4 separate regions of the Homo sapiens genome follow, and regions 2, 3 and 4 are each linked to region 1. The links are contacts of gene promoters, found by promoter capture Hi-C in human tissues and cell types (Jung and others, 2019). All regions are on one chromosome and are shown on one strand. The core of a region is centred on a gene start or on the middle of the fragment in contact, and the rest is flanking DNA. Distances in the headings are between cores, read along the strand shown. Region 1 holds the start of TSR1 (TSR1 ribosome maturation factor). Region 2 holds the start of SLC43A2 (solute carrier family 43 member 2). Region 3 holds the start of SCARF1 (scavenger receptor class F member 1). Region 4 holds the start of SERPINF2 (serpin family F member 2).

Region 1 (5,185 bases), core at 1,127-3,626:
CCCACCTAGGCCTCCCAACGTGCTGGGATTACAGGCGTGAGGTTATATATATATATATTAGGGAGACGGCATAGAGACTCAAGGTCACACAGAATTAGGTCCAGACTATTCCAAAATGTATGCTTTCCAAACACCAGGCCTCGAAGTCTCCAAAATCAGCACATTTATTTACCAAACAGTCACGGAGTGCCTACAGTATGCCAGGCACTGGATACAAGGCAGTGGACAAAACAGAGGGTCTCCTGCCCTGGTGGAGTTTACTTACCAGGCAGACAACAGCCACAGAGGCAGGCAGGGGAAGGAGGCCCAATGTATTCTAAGCTGCGCTGTGGGTTGGAGCTCTCCAGCTCTCATATGGGAGTGAGTCATTCACATGGTCACTGCCCCCCACCCGAAATGGAAATGGGCTTTTGGGCAGGGTCAAGGTAAACGGAGTTAGTAGAGGGAAGGACTACTTCTCTTTCTGAAGTAGGGGGGCTTCCCTCAAAAGGGAAAAACTTCCGAGTGTTAAAAACCATTCCAAACAAGCCCCTGGTCCCTGGCTAAGGAGGTGGGCGTGGAGGGAGAAACTGAGGTGTGCGGCGCACCCCTCCGGCAGCGATCACTCCGTAGCTGGAGGCACAGCGGACGTCGGACAAGGGGGAGCTCAGCCCGCACGACACCCACTTAGGACGTGGGGAAGCTCGGCCCGCACGACACCCACCTGCGCCGCGGGAGCTCGCGCGGGGCCCCGCCCCCTCCCCTGGCGGCGCGGGCACTGAATGGGCAGCTCCGGATCCAGCCATCCCCGCCATCGCCGCCACCCCTCCCCCGGCCTTGGGCTCCCAGCGCCGCTGCCGTCACTGGGCGGGGAGCTGCGGGGCTGCGAAGCAAACAAGCCGGGAGCGCCGGCCGGGTCCCCCGGGCAGAGGGGCGCTGCCCTCCCCCATCCGAGAAAGGGGAAGGAGGCGCAGCCCGTCCAGGACCCGCCCCGCCCGGCCCAGGTTCGGCCCGGGTGCCCGCGCCGGGGGGTGGGCGCGGACCTTTCTGCCCCCTGGGCCGCGCGGGCCAGGGCGCGAGCCCCCCGGGGTTCTTGACTCGACTTTACCTCCTTCTTCACGTTCCACAGCAGTTTCTCTTTGACTGCGTCCTCTGCGCTGCCCATGGTGTGGCAGGAGGCGGCGCCGAGCGGTCCTCAGAGCCCCCGCGCCCTCGCCGCCTCCGCGCCTCTCGGCTCAGCGCCCCACGCGCAAGGCGGAGCCCCCGCCCGCCGCGCTCCCGGCCCGCCGCCGCCGCCGCCGCCGCAGCCACTGCCCGGTGCTCGGCTCCGCAGCCATCTTCCGAGCCCCGCACAGACGTCAGGCGGCAGGCCCGGCCCCTTCCCACAGCCGGAGGGGGGTTGCGCACAGCGACGGGGGATCGGGGCGGGGAGAGGCCGTGCGCGCCTAGGGGCGGCAGACCCGGGCGCGCGCCACGGGGGTCGCTGTCATGGCAACGCACCCGCTCCCGCATGGAGGGCGCGAAGCCGCATTGTGAGCGCTGGCCCTGGAGCCCGCGGCCCCGCGGCTGAGAGCGAGCCTCGGTCCCGCTGAAGCTCCCCTGACTTCTGCCTGCTCCCTCTCCCGACGGGACGGAAAGGGCCGGGGCTCGGGCATGGGGTCCCCTGCGGTCCGAGCCTGCCCACGGCGAAGCCGGTGCAGCCTGGCCCCGTGACCCCTCTGAATCCCCGTCCGGCCGTCGCCGTGCAGTTGTCAAGTTTCTGGGAAGATTAGTGGGAGCGCAGCCGCCCGAGCCCGACGGCCGGAGGGTCGCGGCCAGTCCCCCTTGCCGGGTCGCCACGTCCCACAAGGTCCTTCCCGGCCGCTCCGTGGGAGGCGGGGCGCAGGTTGGAGTAACAGGGACGGGCTTGAGCTGGTACGGAACCGGGCAAGGTGAGAGAAGTGTCTTCCACGCGATTCCCAAGCCTCGCTAGGGAATCGAGGGAGAAGAAAGGTTGCTCAGAGTGATAAAGAACATGCCGTTGCAAACGGAAGAGCAACGTGCCCGAATCTAGGTGACAGGAAGGGCTTAGGCCTTTTCGGCACGAATGGAGCCTTCCAGTCAACATGCTTCTACGTGATGCAGCTTTATAGCGCAAAAAAATGACAATGCAAGGGGTACAAACAGCCCTGCTAGACCAACAGCCCGAGCCTCGACAGTCTACATCCGGCGCCTTCAAGCCCCCAACCACACACTGCGAAGTGGGAAAAGTTCCCAGCGCGGCTTGGCGAACCCGCTAACACGGCGCTCTCACGAGCTGCTGGAAAAGACCTTCGCGAGAGGGCGCAGGGAGTCCCGCTCCCTGGAGGGCCCGCCCCCTTGGAGGGGACCGGAAGCGCTTGTCCTGGCCCGGAAGCAGTGCTGACTCCGTACACGCGCGCTGCGGCATGGCGGCCCACCGCCCCGGCCCGCTCAAGCAGCAGAATAAAGCTCATAAAGGCGGACGGCATCGGGGTCGGGGATCTGCACAGCGGGACGGCAAGGGTAAGGAGATAACGTAGAAGGAATAAGGGCTATTTGGCCGTTATTAACTCTTTTTCCTCATGCCCAGACTGAGCTTCTGTCTCCCGTCTGGGCTCCACGCGAAAGGCCCTTTCTAAGGTGGGCGGAGAGGAGTCCCTTTTCTTGACCTTGTGGGGCCGATCACACCAGCCCCTTCTAATCTGCCATTCAGGCCGTCTGGCACTGAAAACCCTAAGCAAGAAGGTGAGAAAAGAACTCAGCAGAGTCGACCAGAGGCATCGCGCCAGCCAGCTCCGAAAGCAGAAGAAGGAGGCGGTGAGAGGAGCGGGATTTGGGAGAATGCGGCTTCTCTGGTGTTCTAGGTGGCTAATGCCTCGAAGTGGAAAATGAGACCGGGAGGAGGGTCCAGGGACAGAGCATAGCCCTAGAGCACGTGTCGAGCGTGCAGGTCTAGCATTCTTTGCTTTGGTCAGAATTCCTGCCACCCCGCTGGCATACCTGTGGTCTTTTACTAGAGAGATGCTGGTTTTGGGTAGGGGGAGCATCTGTGGGAGTGGAAATGCAATGCTGGAGTGAAGTACTGAGACACTGAGATGTTCTCGGATATCTTTCTATTTTCAGGTTCTGGCAGAGAAGAGACAGCTGGGTGGCAAGGATGGCCCTCCTCATCAGGTACTGGTGGTGCCCCTGCACAGCAGAATTTCCCTGCCAGAGGCCATGCAGCTGCTTCAAGATAGGGACACTGGAACAGTACACTTGAATGAATTGGGAAACACCCAGAACTTTATGCTGCTGTGCCCCCGCTTGAAACATCGGTGGTTTTTCACCTCAGCAAGGCCAGGTTAGAGTATACACCAATATTTTGTATTATGTTTGAGTAGTGGTATTTTTTTTTTTTTTTTTTAGAATAATGTGCTGGTGCCAACCACCTCTTCTTACTGTGTCTTCTATCTGCAGGGGATCTGCACGTTGTGTTAGACATGGCTAAAGTAGCTGATACCATCCTGTTCCTCCTTGATCCACTAGAAGGCTGGGACAGCACCGGTGATTACTGTCTTTCCTGCCTCTTTGCTCAGGGCCTTCCGACCTATAGTAAGTGAGTTAGCATTTATTGTGCACCTTTAATTTGTCAGGCACTATGCCTGGTATTTGATACAGGAATACAACTGATGGATCATATTCAGCTGGTGGTGGGATGTACACATATGGATTAAACTTGATCCATTGTTTACAGATTATCACTCAGGGTGTCTTTTTGTTTTTGGCTGTCCTTTGCCCAGAGAAACAAGGATATGAAGTTTGATTTCACTGTGAAATTCCTTCAGGGTAGTTCAGTGTTGGGCTTCCCAGTGATCTCTGGGCTTGCAACTGAGCTATTAGGTTGTTTGTGAACTGCAGAGGGATTTTTATGTAATGAAGCAGTAGGTCATGAAGCGTTTTCTCTTTCGCTTACAGCACTAGCTGTCCAGGGGATTTCTGGCCTCCCACTGAAGAAACAAATAGATACCAGGAAGAAGCTAAGTAAAGCAGTGGAGAAGCGCTTTCCGCATGACAAACTCCTCTTGTTAGACACTCAACAGGAGGCAGGGATGCTGCTTAGGCAGTTGGCTAACCAGAAGCAACAGCATCTTGCTTTTCGAGATCGGCGGGCCTACCTATTTGCCCATGCTGTTGATTTTGTTCCTAGTGAAGAGAATAACTTGGTGGGCACCTTGAAAATTTCAGGCTATGTTCGAGGGCAGACTCTGAATGTCAATAGGTTGCTGCATATCGTTGGATATGGTGATTTCCAGATGAAACAGATAGATGCCCCCGGAGACCCTTTCCCTTTAAATCCTAGAGGAATTAAACCCCAAAAGGACCCAGACATGGCAATGGAGGTAAGACTGATATTCTTAATTCATGTTCATATGAAAGTTGGCACAGGAAGGAAACTTAAATTCAGAGAAGATAGTCTGTACACTTAGGTGAATGAGGAGACTGCTAGTCTGAAGTAAGGCAATAGTCAGTTATAAATAGGTTGATAAATCACATATTTATCCAGCACTTTCTAGGTAGTCTGCACTGTGATTGGCTCTGAGTTTATAGAACACACTCAAGATGTGGTTGCTTTCCTCAAGGGACTTAATTGGGCTGGAACAAAATGGCATGTGTGAAATAAAGATTGAGATAGCATATGGTTAGAGTGCGGACCAGCAGTGGAAGTTGAGAAAGTAGACTAGCAAGCTTCACATAAGAGATCAGACTTGAGCTAGGTGTTGAGAAGGATAAATGTGATTTATGAGTTGAAGAGGGATAAAAGAATATCCTAGAAGATAAGAGACAGAATGAACCTAGGCACAGTGGTGGATCAAAGGGTTTATGTGAACCTTGAAGAAATCAGCTTGATGGGAGTGAGGTACGTAATAAATGGATAGGAGTGGGAGCAGATTAAGAAAGACCTCAAGAGCCAAGCAGAGACTTAAAATACCCTGGAAATTAGAAAACAGCCATTGGAAAAGTTTTGACAAGTTTTAGCATTCTGTCGCACTCATCTTATACATGAGGACTGATATTTCTGGGTCTTTCTGGTTACTGTGTTAGATTTAGGAGATTTTTGGTTCATGGTTGACTATCACCTGCTTTTGGTTTTCAGATTTGTGCTACGGATGCTGTAGATGATATGGAAGAAGGTCTTAAAGTCCTAATGAAGGCAGACCCTGGT
Region 2 (5,185 bases), core at 766-3,265, 710 kb after region 1:
AGAATCACAGCGACTGCCTAACAAATGTCTGATGAAAGGATGGTTCTCAGCAGGGCACTGTGAGTCATGCCTGTAATCCCTGCACTTTGGGAGGCTGAGGTGGGAGGATCACTTGAGCCCAAGACTTCAAGACCAGCCTGGGCAACAGGGCAAGACCCTATCTGTACAAAAAATACAAAAATTAGCCAAGTGTGGTAGCATGCACCTGTGGTCCCAGCTACTTGGGAGGCTGAGGCAGGAGGATCACCTAAGCCCAGGAGGTCGAGGCTGCAGTGAGCTATGATCATGCCACCACACTCCAGCAGTCTGGGTGCCTGAGATCCTGTCTCAAAAAAAAAAAAAAAAAAAGAAAAAGAAAAAAGACAGGGTTCTTGGTATCTAACTTCAGTAGACAGTAGTAGTATGGTTATCTGAGAGAAAATGTGGAGGACAGTTCTGGGGGATATTTGAGGCATGTTTGAGCCCTGCAGCGCCGTCAGGCTGCTCAAAGAGGAGGGAAGGGTGAAGAAAGAGATTTTTCAGATGGCAGTTGAAACCTTGGGAGTGGGAAGGGTTCCACAGGGTGAGGAACCGGGTAGGCTACCAGCTGGAGCCGCCCCCCAGCAGGCTGACAGCTCCAAGCGTTGTCTGGGGGAGGTTGCCCTCGCCAGGTGGCCCGGGCGGATTCTAGACAGTAGGGGGCACACTCGGACTGGGGCAGGTGGAGCAAGAGGCGTTTGGGGCTCCCACAGCCCTGGGGTGGTGGTGGGGTTTTATTTTTGGTTTTTATTTTGGTAGAGATGGTTCTCGCCATGCTGCCCAGGCTGGTCTCAAACTCCTGTCCCCAAGTGGCCCTCCGACCTTAGCCTCCCAAACCGCTGGGATTCCAGACGTGGACACCGCGCGGCAGCCCTGGGGTGCTAAGCCAGCCCCCCGGAGCGAGCCAGGGTGACCAAGGCGATTCTGGGGCAGTCAGAGGGTCTTCCCGGGTCGGGTTAGTGCCTCGAATCCGGGGGACGAAGACGGGGAGCTGAGCTTTCGGAGCCCGGGCTTATCAGACGGGGACCCGGAGCCCCCTCGAACCCTCCCTAGCTTGTACCAGCTGGCGGACGTGGCCCGTAGCATCGCCCTGCAGAGGGGACCTTCCCTGAAAGGGACGGGGAACGGGGTGAAGGTGGCCAGCGCGGGCAGGGAGCACCCAGATGACGATCAAGGGTGGAGGGTCCCCGGAGGACCGAGCAGTGCGTGAACACGGGCGGAGAAAGGTCAGTCTGATGGGGGGAGCTCAGGAGACCCCATCCTAGGACGGGACAGACCAGCCCCAAATCCCCTTGCAGATTTCCAAGGGCCAACTTCCAGGGACCGGGCAGACGCCACCGGGGAGAGGGGAAGGGGTCGGTGCATCAGCGGGGGGCGCCACGGCTGGACCGGGTCCGGGATCCCAGGCCCCGAATACGCCGGGACGGGAACCACCGGGGCGGGGGAGCGAGGAACCAGGACCCAAAGCCCGAGGCGGCGGGGACGGCGGCGCTGCGTGGGGAGGAGGCGGGGTGGGGATTCGAGAGTGGAACCACCGTGCGGAGCCGGCGCATCTGGGCGTGGTGACCCGCGCGCAGGGGGCAGCTGGGGACGGCGGGGCGGCCGCGGGAGAGCCCGGCTGGGGGCGCTGGTGGCCCGGCGGCTTCTGGGGGGAGTCCGCTGGGGGCCGGGACGCGGAGCCGGAGCCCCAGCCTCGCAGGGTCAGGCCGCTGGAGAGGCCGCGGGGCGATGTCGCCGGGGATTCCCGGCCGCGCTGTGACTCGGGTTGAAGGCTGCAAAGCCGAGGCCCGGCCCGCAGCGCCCAGGCCCCTCCCGTCCCCCATCTCTCTTGTTTGTCTCCGAGTCCGGCCGGAACCGGCTTCTGCTCGCGGCGGGGCGGGCGGGGGGCTGGCTGCTGATTGGTCGACGCCTGTTTCCAGCCCCGCTCAGCCAATCAGCGGGCGGCAGTGTTTTCTTCTTGGGGTCGGAATAAAAGGGCTGGAATAAAAGAGGGCAGAAAAGGCGCCGGGCGGGCCCGACACACGCCGGAGGAGCCGGGTGAGCTGCAGCAGGGAGGGGATCGCGGCCGGGGCGAGGGCGCGGGGGCAGAAGCGGCCGCCGAAGGGGCGTAGGGAGAAAACGTGGGAACGAGGAGAGAGATGGAGCGATGAGGGGCCGCCAGGGAAGAGATGACGAACAGATGCGGGCTGGGGAATGGAGGCGCGGGGGTCCGAGGCCATGGAAACGGGCGAGTTGCCGGGGGAACGCCCGAGATGGGGGTCGCGCGGCTGGCTCGCGCCACCGGTTTGAACCGGCTCCTCGTCTCCCACGCTGGGTTCGCGTGGCCGCAGCGCCTAGCGACCTAGACGGCGGCCAATGGCGCGGCAGTTCCTGCGCCGTCCGGCCAATGAGCGCGCCGGGGCGGGCCGTTCCGTAGGTCTGGGCGCTGATCTTGTGGTTGAAGAAACCAGCTCTGGGGAAGGGTCTCGGGCGCGGGCGGGAGGGCACCTGTCAGGGTCCCTGGGAGAGGCAGCCCTCGGATCTGCCCCTGCCCACCTCACGCTGCGTTCCATGCTGGCCCCAGGCGATGTCAGTCCTGCTGCAGGCCAGGACTAGTTCCACGGCCCTGAGCATGCGTTAGCCCCTTCTTGCCTCCATGCCTCAGTTTACCTCGGAGTGAGCTGCGGGAGACGTCTCCCTGCCTGGCCGGGGCGGCTCTGTCGTAGCGGAGGGCAGCGGTACGAGCCGGCCGCGGGCTCGGGGTGTCCCAGGTCCGGGCAGGGCTGGGGTTCGCTTCCTCTGCTGCGCGCACCGGCCGCCGCGGCCGGGGAGGGGTGGCAATCCCGAGCCCTGCGGCAGCGGTCGGGGCTGCTGGGGGCGGCCGCAGGGGCTGGGCAAGGGCCGGCCGCTGACGCCGAGTTCTGTGCGCAGGTGGTGCAGAGCCGGAGCCGGAGCCGGAGCCGCGCCGCGCCGCACCATGGCGCCCACCCTGGCCACTGCCCATCGGCGCCGCTGGTGGATGGCCTGCACGGCCGTGCTGGAGAACCTCCTCTTCTCGGCAGTCCTCCTGGGCTGGGGCTCGCTGCTCATCATGCTCAAGTCAGAGGGCTTTTACTCCTACCTGTGTACCGAGCCAGGTGAGACAAGCGCCTGGGGTTGCGGGGGGCTCCTGGAGCTGGGGCTTTGGGAGGGGGCGGGATGGGGGCGAAGACCTAGCGAGCCACAGCACCGCATTGCCCAGTGCCTCTAGGGTATCAGAAGGCCCATCTGATCCTCACCCAGCCCTGCCGGGTACTTGTCATTGCCCCTGTTTTGTGGACGAAGACATCGAGGCTCAGAGCGATCTGTCTTGCGCAAGGCCGCAGAGCCTGGGCCTGCCATCCACCCAGAACCCCACCTGCTGTCCAGGGTGTTCCTTCCACCCGCTACGAACAGTGCTGGACTGCTCTCCTCTCCTCCCAGCCCTGGAACATAGCTTGGCTGGTAGTAAACATGTTGCTGTCTGCTTGTGAGAAAGAGGAACTCCAGATTAAGGGGCTGGGGTGCAGCAGGAGAGGAAGTGGCCTTGCCTCCACCCCAGGGAGGGCTCATCTAGAATCTAGACGTTCCTCAGGCCATTGTGGAGTCTCCTAAGTGCTTGCTGGACACAATTTCTTGTCTATTTTTGCTGCCTTATGATTCTCCAAAGGACATTTCCCCCACGGGCTCTGAGGACATCTCCGTGGCTTTCCAACCCCATGGGGATGAAGGGGAAGAGAAGAAAGGAACGTTTATGGAAATGATGCTAGGGTTGTTCTCTCCTCTTTGCCTTGTCACTGGAATTGCTGAAGGCAGGCTGAGGATGCTTCTCTACATGACATCTGCACCACCCAACACACACTTACCTTCACACCTTCATACCCTGTTGGAGGGTCCTGATGACTACAGGGCAGTAAATTCAGCCCCACAGGAGGGCCACAGCAGCCCCCAGCCTCTAGCCTCCTACCCTCCTTCTTAGGCAACCTTGACAGGAAATTTTCCCTCTGCCTTCTCCTTGATCCCAACGGTAGCTGCATAATAGCTGAGCTCACATAATCCCTGTCGCCAGTGCTAGAGTGCCCTTAGATGGAGGTAGCCCAGGTTTGACTTCCTGAATCCCCAGCAGCAGGCCTTTTCTTTCTAGAGCTCTTTGCAGGAAGAGAAAGCTTTGGACCAGCTCATGCTGGGTGTAATCCTTTGTGGAAGCCTCCCTGTTTCCCTTCTCTGATCTGCCCCGGAGATTCCTGTGTGTCCCAGTCTCTAGGGAGGGAGGCTTAGCTGGAGAGGTTCAGGGCAGGAGAAAGCAGGAGAATGCAGAGGCCGCGGGGAGAGGACAGAAAGTATATCATTTATAACTAACCTTTAGCCTTTAGCCACTCAAAAATATTTCCTAATAGCCTAAGGGTTCTTGGCAGGTCTTTCCCCACATCAGCAAGAAATCTTGGGAGTTGGGAAGAGTCAGACCTTGTTCCCTGAACAAGCTTTCTGCTTTGGCCAAGAGTTGTTAGGAGATTAATGCCTGTCCCCGAAAGGCACAGGTTGGAGTGTTTACTTCTTCCTCTCCTTTCCTCTCTCCCCCCTTAGAGATCGTGACCCTTCCTGCTTGCCTCCCTGGTGGGCTCTTTCAGGCTGGACACAGGGTTTAAAAAAAAAAAAAAAAAGCAGAAAAAAAGTCATCGTCCCCAGAGAAAGCTTTTAGTGTCTCACCCAGACCAGAGAACTGTTGTGGGCAGGTGTTTTTTTGTGTGTTTTTTTTTTAACCCACCATGATGTCGGAAGGTCAGATTCTAGGTGTTTTTTGTTTGTTTTTTGTTTTTTGTTTTTTTTTAATAGAATGTCCACGGATTTAATTGATTGTATGGTTTTGGCAGAATTGGGTCTGGTCCTTTCATTCCTGCCTCAACCTCAGCTTCCTCCTCTGTCTAAGTGGGAGGAGTCCCAGAGATTGTGCCAGCGCAGTGCTGAGTTGGTGTTTTAAGCCCTGGGCAGACTTGACAGGTAACTCCACTAAACCAAAGTGAAGGTGAAGGGTCAGGATTGTGGGTTGAACATCAACTTCTTATCCCGAACTTTTGCTCCTGCCTCCAATTTTGGTTTTTCTTATTATCTGGCAAACATGCTGAGCCCACGTTCTGGGCGGGAAGGCTGCTGATTCCACACAGCTTATCTC
Region 3 (5,185 bases), core at 1,191-3,690, 690 kb after region 1:
AGCTGCAGCAGCCAGGGAATCTCTCCTAGGAGGGGGCCACGGGGCCACCTAATTTAAGGTCTGAGGGTGTCAGCAAGGCAGAGCGCTTCCCGTGTTCAGGGAAGAGCTGCGTGCACAGGTACCAGGAGTGAGGACTGCGGCTGGCATCTCCACTGCTGGCATCCCCATGGCTGGCATCACCAGGGCTTTCTCCCTCCCTGCCCCTTTTCTTTAGGGAGCTGCTCACAGACCACCGGGTCCCCGGCCTTCTGCTCGAGGCCATGAAGGTGGCTGTCCGGAAGCAGCGGAAGAAGATCAAGGCCAAGATGTTAGGGACACCAGAGGAAGCAGAGAGCAGGTAGGTCCCTGCCTGCATTCCCACGGAGCCAGGCCTCCCTCCCTCATTCTGCTGAGCCTGATGACCCAGCCTGGTCACCCTCTGAGCCCATTGTCTCAGACTGAGGCTGTCACCCCAACCCGGTCACCCCTTGAGCCTCCCTAGCCTGGCCGCTTCTAGGGCCTGCTGACCTGCTCTGGCTGTGTCCCATGGCCGCTGTCCAGCCTGCGCCCTTCTCCCTGGATCTCACCACTCCCCTTGCCTTGCCTGCCATCCATTCTGCCTGACAACACTGCCTCTCCACATTCATTCTTCAAGTTCCTGTCTTGGCTGGGTCTGTTTATTCTTACGGGGGTGAAACTGTAGCCGCGGCTGTGTCAGGGCCTGCTGTGTGTCAAGCTATAAAATAAACCCTTGGCAGGGCGCGGTGGCTCACGCCTGTAATCCCAGCACTTTGAGAGGCTAAGGTGGGTAGATCACCTGAGGTCAGGAGTTCGAGACCAGCGTGGCCAACATGGTGAAACTCCGTCTCTACTAAAAATACAAAAATTAGCCGGGCATGGTGGCATGTGCCTATAATCCCAGCTACTCAGGAGGCTGCGGCAGGAGAATCGCTTGAACTTGGGAGGCGGAGGTTGCAGTGAGCTGAGATCGCACCACTGCACTCCAGCCTGGGCGACAGAGTGAGACCCTGTCTCAAAAAAAAAAAAATTAAAAATTAAAGGCTCGACATCCTGCATCTCCCCAGGGTTGCCTTCTCTCCAGCCCCGGGGGCCCTGCAGTCCCTCCATCCCCCCTGCTGGATTCCTGTTGTCCCTCAGGGCCTTGATCAATGGCCCTCACTTCTCCTCTCTCCTCTGTCTCAGTGAGGATGAGGCTGGCCCATGGATCCTGCTCTCCGATGACAAGGGAGACCATCCCCCACCCCCGGAGTCCAAAATACAGAGTTTGTATGTTGGGGAAAGGGGAAAGGCAAGAGTGTGGGGAGGGAGGAAGGGCCCTGGCTGGTCCTTCTCAGGATCCCCTTTCCCGCTTCTCTGCCCGTCACCCTGCTGTGCTTGGCTCTAAGCACACCGTCCCCTCCTGCTTCTCTGGCCCTGGCCCCCATCACCTTCACACTCCCTCAGGCTGCCCTTTCTTCCCCCTCTCCCCTTTTCTCACCATCCCCTGCCCTCACCCATATCCTTGACCTCTCTGGCTTCCTGGCTCAAAGTGCCTCTGGCTGTCTCTCTCCAGCTTTGGCCTATGGTATCGGGGTAAAGCTGAATCCTCTGAGGATGAGACCAGCAGCCCTGCACCCAGCAAGCTAGGGGGAGAAGAGGAGGCCCAACCACAGTCTCCAGCTCCTGATCCGCCCTGTTCTGCCCTCCACGAACACCTTTGTCTGGGGGCCTCAGCCGCCCCAGAGGCCTGACTTAGGGGTCTGGCTGTGGAAGGATGTGTGGCCTCAAATGAGGACAGGGCTCCCGCCTTCACAGCCCTCGCCAGGGGTCTGCCCCAATCCTGGCCTGCATCAGGGCAGGACGGGGTCTCAGCCCGCCTCCCTCTCTACGTCTCTGTACCGAGCCTCTGGGGCCAGATATAAGAGTGCCTCTCTGAGTCTCAGTTTCCCCATCCATGAAATGAGAGCTGACTGCCTAGCTCCCAGGGCTTTGTGCAGACGGCCTGAGCTCATGTAATAAAGAACTGCCCGTAATACACAGAAACTGTTCCTCGCCTGTCTGTCCATGTCTGTGCCACCTCCCAACCCTGCCAGGAGCAGAGGCAGGCTGAGGGGTCCTCGCTGGTCTCCTTGCTCAGTCACTGGGTGGGGTGGCTTCTTGCAGCTCAGGCCTTGCTTTGGGAGTGTGGCCTGATGGAAAGCCGTGGCTCCCAGCCTCAGTCCACCCCCTTCCCTGGCCCCGGCACCCAGGGACCTGCAACTTCATTCTTCTGGCCCTTCCAGGCCCAGGCCAGTCAGCCCTGCCATTGCCTTTCTTTCCCTTTCTTTTTTTGAGTGTCAGTCTTTCCAGCCACCCCCTCCCTCTCAGGGAGGTGCCTCGTGGCAGCCCGCCCCTCCGGCCTGGTTTCCTCAGGAAAAGCCCTGAGAGGAAGCAGGGAGGGGGTTGGGAGCTGTGGGGGCCAGACGAACCCGAGCGCTCCCACCGAGCTGCCTGCCATGGGGCTGGGGCTGCTGCTCCCGCTGCTGCTGCTCTGGACTCGGGGGACTCAGGGGTCCGAGCTGGACCCCAAAGGGCAGCACGTCTGTGTGGCCAGCAGGTGGGTCTCGTGGGAGTCTGATGCGTGTGGCCAGCAGGTGGGTCTCGTGGGAGTCTGATGCGGGTGGCTGAACCGGTGTTGAGGCCGTTAGGGGAAGGAGGAGACTAGGAAGGGGGCTTAGGCTGAAAGGAAGGGACTGCTGATGGCGGTCTGGCAGGTAGTGGCCAGCCAGGGCAGATGGTGGAAGGGTCAGGGAAGGAGAGGGGAGGGGCTGGGGACCCTAGCTGTAAAGATCCATTAGGCCTCCCCAGGGGGCTAAGGCAGCCTCCCCCACTGCAGCCAGAGACAGTGATCCACCTTCCTCAGGGCCAGGCTGCACCCCCCACCATGTCCGGCTGACCCCTTTTTGCCCCACAGCCCCTCTGCTGAGCTGCAGTGCTGCGCAGGCTGGAGGCAGAAGGATCAAGAATGCACCATCCGTGAGTAGCCAGGACAGACCCTCAGCCAAGGAGAAGGGAGGCCGTAGCCCAGTGACAACCCTTCCTTCCTACCCCATGGGGCCTGCCCCTCCTGATACCAGGAGTCAGGGTTTCTCCTGTGACGCACCCCCAGGCCTGAAGGGGCACCTCTTGAGGAGGCATGGCCCCTGGAGCCAGTGAGAGGGCAGGGGTGTCCCCTGGTCCTGCTCCCGTCTTTCCAACCTGGGTGGGGTGTCTTTCAGCCATCTGTGAGGGGCCGGACGCCTGCCAGAAAGACGAGGTGTGTGTGAAGCCGGGCCTCTGTCGATGCAAGCCTGGATTCTTTGGGGCCCACTGCAGCTCCCGTGAGTCTCAAGGGCCAGATGAAGTTGCTGGGCAGAGCTGGGTACGGGGGCAGTGGTGTGGGAGCAGGCGAGGCAGGTAGCCATGCAGCCTCAGGACAGCAGGGCCAGAATCCCCCCCAGCTTCACTGAGGAATTGCGGTCCAGAGACAGGAAGTGACACACACTCCCGGGAGATGACCTGAGTCACCGGGTTTTTACCCACATCCACAAAGCACTGCCCACCTGAGCATCTTCCTCTTCCACTTCTCAGAAAACCTGTGATTCCCCTTCATTGTAAAATGAGTGTATTACTTGCCTTTCCCACATATACCTTATACATGGGCAGTGGATGGAAGGGGGCCCCTGGCTGGGCTCTCTGCCCTCTCTGGCAGAAAGAGAGGGAAGGGAAAGGGGTTGGGAAGCAGGAGAGCCAGAGGGTGGGCATCAGGAATCAAGGAATCACTAGGGGAAAGGTGGCTTCTCCCGACACCCTGGCGGGCAGTATCCAGGCCTGAGATCAGGAGAAAGCCAGCTCTCCTCCAGCCCAGCAGAGATCCATCTCGGCAGGGAGGAGCAGGCATGGAGGAAGGCCCACCAACCTCGGTGCCACGCTCTGGGCAAGTCCCCTGCCCACTCAGGATCTCTGAGTGTGTTCTGGAATGTGAAGTGGCAGGCTGAGCCTCCCACTAATGGCTAAGGGTTTTCTGTAGGTCAGAGCGGAGCAGGAAGTGAGTGTTGCCCAGGACAGGCTGCCGGATGTTCTGAGGGTCTGTCCCCGGCTCTTGGAGGATGGGCCCAGCGCCCCTTTTCCTTGAGGAAGGGGACGCAGGGTAAGGGTCTGCGCGCGGCCCTGAGCCCGCTGACCCCTCCCGTCCCCACCCCCGCAGGCTGCCCGGGCCAGTACTGGGGCCCCGACTGCCGTGAGAGCTGCCCCTGCCACCCGCACGGCCAGTGCGAGCCAGCCACGGGCGCGTGCCAGTGCCAGGCCGACCGCTGGGGAGCCCGCTGCGAGTTCCCGTGCGCCTGCGGCCCCCACGGGCGCTGCGACCCCGCGACCGGCGTGTGCCACTGCGAACCCGGCTGGTGGTCGTCCACGTGCCGCCGCCCGTGCCAGTGCAACACCGCGGCGGCGCGCTGCGAGCAGGCCACGGGCGCCTGCGTGTGCAAGCCGGGCTGGTGGGGGCGCCGCTGCAGCTTCCGCTGCAACTGCCACGGCTCCCCGTGCGAGCAGGACTCCGGCCGCTGCGCCTGCCGGCCGGGCTGGTGGGGTCCCGAATGCCAGCAGCAGTGCGAGTGTGTGCGGGGCCGCTGCAGCGCCGCCTCCGGCGAGTGCACCTGCCCGCCCGGCTTCCGCGGAGCGCGCTGCGAGCTGCCCTGCCCGGCAGGCAGCCACGGGGTGCAGTGCGCACACAGGTGAGCGGGCGGGGCGGGGACAGGTGGGCTGGCGGGGCGGGGGCGGACACAAGTGAGCAGGCGGGGCGGGGCGGAGACAGGGGGGCGGGGCGGAGACAGGGGGCGGGGCGAAGACAGGTGGGCGGGGCGGACACCGGTGGGCGGGGCGGACACCGGTGGGCGGGGCGGGCACCGGTGGGCGGGGCGGACACCGGTGGGCGGGGAGGGGGCGGGGTGGAAACTGGTGAGCGGGCAGGGTGGGGGCGGGGCGGGCACAGGTGAGCGGTCGGGGGAGGGGGCGGAGGCGGACACAGGTGAGCGAGGCTGCGCGGAGACCTGTGAGCGGGCGGGGCGGAGCGGAGACAGGTGGCCGCGGCGGGGCGCCGGGAGGAGGGGTCAGGGCTTCGCGGTGCTCCTCTCAAAAAACATACAAAGCAGAGGAACGAGAAAGGGGAAAAGTCGGATAGGTGGGGTGG
Region 4 (5,185 bases), core at 540-3,039, 590 kb after region 1:
TCTGAATCCAGGCTACCTCTTGCCAAAGGACCTCGGCATTTCCCGTAACTCCACCAGGCTTGGCCTTACCTTGTAAAACGGTGGCACAAGTCCCTCACTCTTCTCACATGCATGGTGAGGACCAAAATAAGACCGTCTTTTTGGGATTTTTTGTTGTTTATTTTTTGAGACGGAGTTTCGCTCTCGTTGACCAGGCTGGAGTGCAGTGGCAGGATCTCGGCTCACCGCAACCTCCACCTCCCAGGTTCAAGCGATTCTCCTGCTTCAGCCTCCCGAATAGCTGGGATTACAGGCATGCACCACCACGCCTGGCTAATTCTGTATTTCTTAGTAGAAACGGGGTTTCTCTGTGTTAGTCAGGCTGGTCTTAAACTCCCGACCTCAGGTGATCCTCCTGCCTCGGCCTCCCAAAGTACTGGGATTACAGGCATGAGCCACTGCACCCGGCAAAAGACCATCTTTGTGGCCAGGCACGGTGGCTCAAGCCTGTAATCCCAGCACTTTGGGAGGCCAGGGGCAGGTGGATCACCTGAGGTCGGGAGTTCAAGACCAGCCTGGCCAACATGGTAAAACCCCATCTCTACTGAAAATACAAAATTAGCCAGGCGTGGTGGTGGGCCCCTGTAATCCCAGCTACTCGGGAGGCTGAGGCAGAGAACTGCTTGAACCCGGGAGGCGGAGGTTGCAGTGAGCCGAGATCACGCCACTGCACTCCAGCCTGGGCGACAGAGCAAGACTCTGTCTCAAAAAAATAAATAAGACCATCTTTGTAAACCCTGAGTACAATGCTTGGCACTCCCCCGATGGCTGGGGTCAGCTTGGCTCAAGGCCACCTCTTCTGGGAAGCCTGCCCTGAAGCCTCCACCGCAGAGCTCCAACACAGAGCTCCTACCCAGCCTGCTGCATCCATTTAGCCTGTCTTTTTTTTTTTTTTTTTTTTTTTTGAGATGGAGTTTCATTCTTATCATGCAGGCTGGAGTGCAATGGCACGATCTCGGCTCACTGCAACCTCCACCTCCTGGGTTAAAGCGATTCTCCTGCCTCAGCCTCCCGAGTAGCTGGGATTACAGGCATGTGCCACCATGCCTGGCTAATTTTGTATTTTTAGTAGAGACAGGGTTTCTCCATGTTGGTCAGGCTGGTCTCGAACTCCTGACCTCAGGTGATCCACCTGCCTCAGCCTCCCAAAGTGCTGGGATGACAGGCATGAGCCACCACGCCTGGCCCCAACCCGTCTTTCTCAGGCTGGTCAGGTCTTGCCCACAAGGCTGGACATACCTGTGAGGCCCTGAGGTCTCACCATGGGTGGCAAGGCAGCCAGAGAGCTGCCTTTTGACCCAGCAGCAGAGCCCAGTGAATGACTCTGGCCAGAGCCACCTCTGCACTTAGGAGCATCACAGGCCTCTGCTCCAGGCTGGCTCTGGGAAGGGCAGGTGTTGGTCTCAGGAGGATAAGTCAGAGCAGGTCTCAGCTACCTCCAGCCCACCCCCATCTTGGGGCCAACCCTTCTGGAGGATCCTTTGGTCCCCCCGGCCCCACCCCCATCCCACACAAGAGCCCTTGGCCAGGGCCCCGACTCCGACCTGGGCATTAGAATCTTCTTGCCAAGAACAGGCTCCAGTTTTTCAAGTCCCAGAAGAGGCTGGGGAGTGACAGGCCTCCTGAATAAATCCCAGACCCCTCAGCCAGGGAGGCAGCTCCCTCCTCCTCTCCTACCCAAGGAGCAGGCCGAGCAGCCCCTCCCCTCATACCTCTGCGGGCTCCTTGCTGCCACACACAACGTTCCTCTGGCCCCACTTGGGTGCTCCTCACTCTCTGCCCAGGCTCCAGCTGGCCCAGCCCACCCCTCCCCTCCCACCAGGACCTTTACTCTCAGCCAACCCCTGTTCAGATTGCTTTCTCTTCTGGTAAATATTGACTTGCACATCCAGTTAAACATTGATCTTGAAGCCAGAAGCCCCTTTCCCACCAGGGCATCTAACCCTGAGGCAGCCACGCAGAACCCCCTATATTTGGGTCCCCCCCCCCGAGCCTGGAAAGAGAAAGTTCAGGAGGAGAGAGTTGAAGAGACTGGATCTGGCTAGCCAAGAGGGCGGATCCAGAAAGCACAGGAACCTAGCACTGTGTTAAGCCTTCCAGAGACCCCACGAGGTGTGGATTATCCCTGGTTCAGCCAGGCTCAGAGAGGCCATGTGACCTGCCCAAGGACACAGAGCTGGGCTGAGGCACATCCAGATTCTCACTCCCAATGTCCTTTCTTCTCCCAGAGAGCTGCCTCCCGCTCCTGAGGGGAGGAAAGGGGAAGCCACAAGAGCCTATGCAGAGAGCCCAGGATAGGAAGCCCACCCCCAACCTTCCAAGCCCAGGATCAGGTTGGCTGCCTTCAGACTGGGATGGAAGGCAGGGGGTGAGGGAGGAGAAATGAGAGGGACTCAACTTCTCCCACCGTCCTGCCACTCCAGAGCAATGTCTCTTTCCCCTACCCAAGAGCGAGGGTTCTGGAAACTGACCTGGGGCTGTATGAACCAGAAGCCTGGCAGCCCGTGCAAAGATCAGGCTGCTTCCCACCCTCACTGTCCGGCTCCTCACTCCCTGCATCAGGCTCCTTCCCACCCTCACTGTCCTGCTCCTCACTCCCTGTATCAGGCCCCTTCCCACCCTCACTGTCCTGCTCCTCACTCCCTGCATCAGGCCGCTTCCCGCCCTCACACCTGCTCCTCACTCCCTGCATCAGGCTCCTTCCCACCCTCACTGTCCGGCTCCTCACTCCCTGCATCAGGCTCCTTCCCACCCTCACTGTCCGGCTCCTCACTCCCTGCATCAGGCTCCTTCCCACCCTCACTGTCCTGCGCCTCACTCCCTGCATCGGGCCACTTCCCACCCTCACTGTCCTGCTCCTCACTCCCTGCATCAGGCCGCCTCCCACCCTCACTGTCCGGCTCCTCACTCCCTGCATCAGGCCGCCTCCCACCCTCACTGTCCTGCTCCTCACTCCCTGCATCAGGCTCCTTCCCACCCTCACTGTCCTGCGCCTCACTCCCTGCATCAGGCCACTTCCCACCCTCACTGTCCTGCTCCTCACTCCCTGCATCAGGCTCCTTCCCATCCTCACTGTCCAGCTCCTCACTCCCTGCATCAGGCTCCTTCCCACCCTCACTGTCCGGCTCCTCACTCCCTGCATCAGGCTCCTTCCCACCTTCACTGTCCTGCTCCTCACTCCCTGCATCAGGCTCCTTCCCACCCTCACTGTCCTGCGCCTCACTCCCTGCATCAGGCTCCTTCCCACCCTCACTGTCTTGCGCCTCACTCCCTGCATCAGGCCCCTTCCCACCTTCACTGTCCTGCGCCTCACTCCCTGCATCAGGCTCCTTCCCACCCTCACTGTCCGGCTCCTCACTCCCTGCATCAGGCCCCTTCCCACCCTCACTGTCCTGCGCCTCACTCCCTGCATCAGGCCCCTTCCCACCCTCACTGTCCTGCGCCTCACTCCCTGCATCAGGCTCCTTCCCACCCTCAGTGTCCGGCTCCTCACTCCCTGCATCAGGCCCCTTCCCACCCTCACTGTCCTGCGCCTCACTCCCTGCATCAGGCCCCTTCCCACCCTCACTGTCCTGCGCCTCACTCCCTGCATCAGGCTCCTTCCCACCCTCACTGTCCGGCTCCTCACTCCCTGCATCAGGCCCCTTCCCACCCTCACTGTCCTGCGCCTCACTCCCTGCATCAGGCCCCTTCCCACCCTCACTGTCCTGCGCCTCACTCCCTGCATCAGGCCACTTCCCACCCTCACTGTCCTGCGCCTCACTCCCTGCATCAGGCCACTTCCCACCCTCACTGTCCTGCGCCTCACTCCCTGCATCAGGCTCCTTCCCACCCTCACTGTCCTGCGCCTCACTCCCTGCATCAGGCTCCTTCCCACCCTCACTGTCCTGCGCCTCACTCCCTGCATCAGGCCGCCTCCCACCCTGACTGTCCTGCTCCTCACTCCCTGCATCAGGCTCCTTCCCACCCTCACTGTCCTGCGCCTCACTCCCTGCATCAGGCCGCCTCCCACCCTCACTGTCCTGCGCCTCACTCCCTGCATCAGGCTCCTTCCCACCCTCACTGTCCGGCTCCTCACTCCCTGCATCAGGCTCCTTCCCACCCTCACTGTCCGGCTCCTCACTCCCTGCATCAGGCCGCCTCCCACCCTCACTGTCCTGCTCCTCACTCCCTGCATCAGGCTCCTTCCCACCCTCACTGTCCTGCGCCTCACTCCCTGCATCAGGCCCCTTCCCACCCTCACTGTCCTGCGCCTCACTCCCTGCATCAGGCTCCTTCCCACCCTCACTGTCCGGCTCCTCACTCCCTGCATCAGGCTCCTTCCCACCCTCACTGTCCTGCGCCTCACTCCCTGCATCAGGCCACTTCCCACCCTCACTGTCCTGTGCCTCACTCCCTGCATCAGGCTCCTTCCCACCCTCACTGTCCTGCGCCTCACTCCCTGCATCAGGCTCCTTCCCACCCTCACTGTCCTGCGCCTCACTCCCTGCATCAGGCCGCCTCCCACCCTCACTGTCCTGCTCCTCACTCCCTGCATCAGGCTCCTTCCCACCCTCACTGTCCTGCGCCTCACTCCCTGCATCAGGCCGCCTCCCACCCTCACTGTCCTGCGCCTCACTCCCTGCATCAGGCTCCTTCCCACCCTCACTGTCCGGCTCCTCACTCCCTGCATCAGGCCACCTCCCACCCTCACTGTCCTGCTCCTCACTCCCTGCATCAGGCTCCTTCCCACCCTCACTGTCCGGCTCCTCACTCCCTGCATCAGGCTCCTTCCCACCCTCACTGTCCTGCGCCTCACTCCCTGCATCAGGCCCCTTCCCACCCTCACTGTCCTGCGCCTCACTCCCTGCATCAGGCTCCTTCCCACCCTCACTGTCCTGCGCCTCACTCCCTGCATCAGGCCGCCTCCCACCCTCACTGTCCTGCGCCTCACTCCCTGCATCAGGCCACTTCCCACCCTCACTGTCCTGCTCCTCACTCCCTGCATCAGGCTCCTTCCCACCCTCACTGTCCTGCGCCTCACTCCCTGCATCAGGCTCCTTCCCACCCTCACTGTCCTGCGCCTCACTCCCTGCATCAGGCTCCTTCCCACCCTCACTGTCCTGCGCCTCACTCCCTGCATCAGGCCGCTTCCCGCCCTCACACC

The links. Contacts are between HindIII fragments. The study calls those that stand out against the background at their distance.
Region 2: a contact is called between the fragment with the promoter of SLC43A2 here and the fragment with the promoter of TSR1 in region 1, in 2 of the 25 tissues and cell types used here (H1 embryonic stem cells and small bowel).
Region 3: the fragment with the promoter of SCARF1 here is called in contact with the fragment with the promoter of TSR1 in region 1 in 5 of the 25 tissues and cell types used here (aorta, heart right ventricle, hippocampus and 2 more).
Region 4: the fragment with the promoter of SERPINF2 here is called in contact with the fragment with the promoter of TSR1 in region 1 in 1 of the 25 tissues and cell types used here (dorsolateral prefrontal cortex).

Annotation. Positions count from the first base shown.
Region 1 is chr17:2,333,648-2,338,832 of GRCh38, reverse strand. It overlaps TSR1 (TSR1 ribosome maturation factor), which reads left to right and starts at 2,376. Exons shown (of 15, transcript NM_018128.5): 1 at 2,376-2,502; 2 at 2,693-2,796; 3 at 3,103-3,322; 4 at 3,439-3,573; 5 at 3,937-4,361; 6 at 5,117-5,185. The coding sequence starts at 2,406. SGSM2 (small G protein signaling modulator 2) reads right to left here and starts at 1,332. Exons shown (of 24, transcript NM_014853.3): 1 at 1,088-1,332. The coding sequence starts at 1,144. RefSeq lists silencers at 649-958, 989-1,088, 1,189-1,298, 1,399-1,708, 1,739-1,868 and an enhancer at 2,099-2,208. The HindIII fragment of the contact is 7,910 bases long and covers 1-5,185 here.
Region 2 is chr17:1,625,664-1,630,848 of GRCh38, reverse strand. SLC43A2 (solute carrier family 43 member 2) reads left to right here and starts at 2,015. Exons shown (of 14, transcript NM_152346.3): 1 at 2,015-2,055; 2 at 2,929-3,134. The coding sequence starts at 2,975. RefSeq lists enhancers at 2,767-3,304, 3,305-3,842. The HindIII fragment of the contact is 9,222 bases long and covers 1-4,339 here.
Region 3 is chr17:1,642,987-1,648,171 of GRCh38, reverse strand. SCARF1 (scavenger receptor class F member 1) reads left to right here and starts at 2,440. Exons shown (of 11, transcript NM_003693.4): 1 at 2,440-2,575; 2 at 2,933-2,994; 3 at 3,237-3,338; 4 at 4,205-4,730. The coding sequence starts at 2,475. RILP (Rab interacting lysosomal protein) reads left to right here. Exons shown (of 8, transcript NM_031430.3): 6 at 215-337; 7 at 1,183-1,266; 8 at 1,553-2,022. The coding sequence ends at 1,730. The HindIII fragment of the contact is 19,188 bases long and covers 1-5,185 here.
Region 4 is chr17:1,739,475-1,744,659 of GRCh38, reverse strand. It overlaps SERPINF2 (serpin family F member 2), which reads right to left and starts at 1,789. Exons shown (of 10, transcript NM_000934.4): 1 at 1,752-1,789. The HindIII fragment of the contact is 23,738 bases long and covers 1-5,185 here.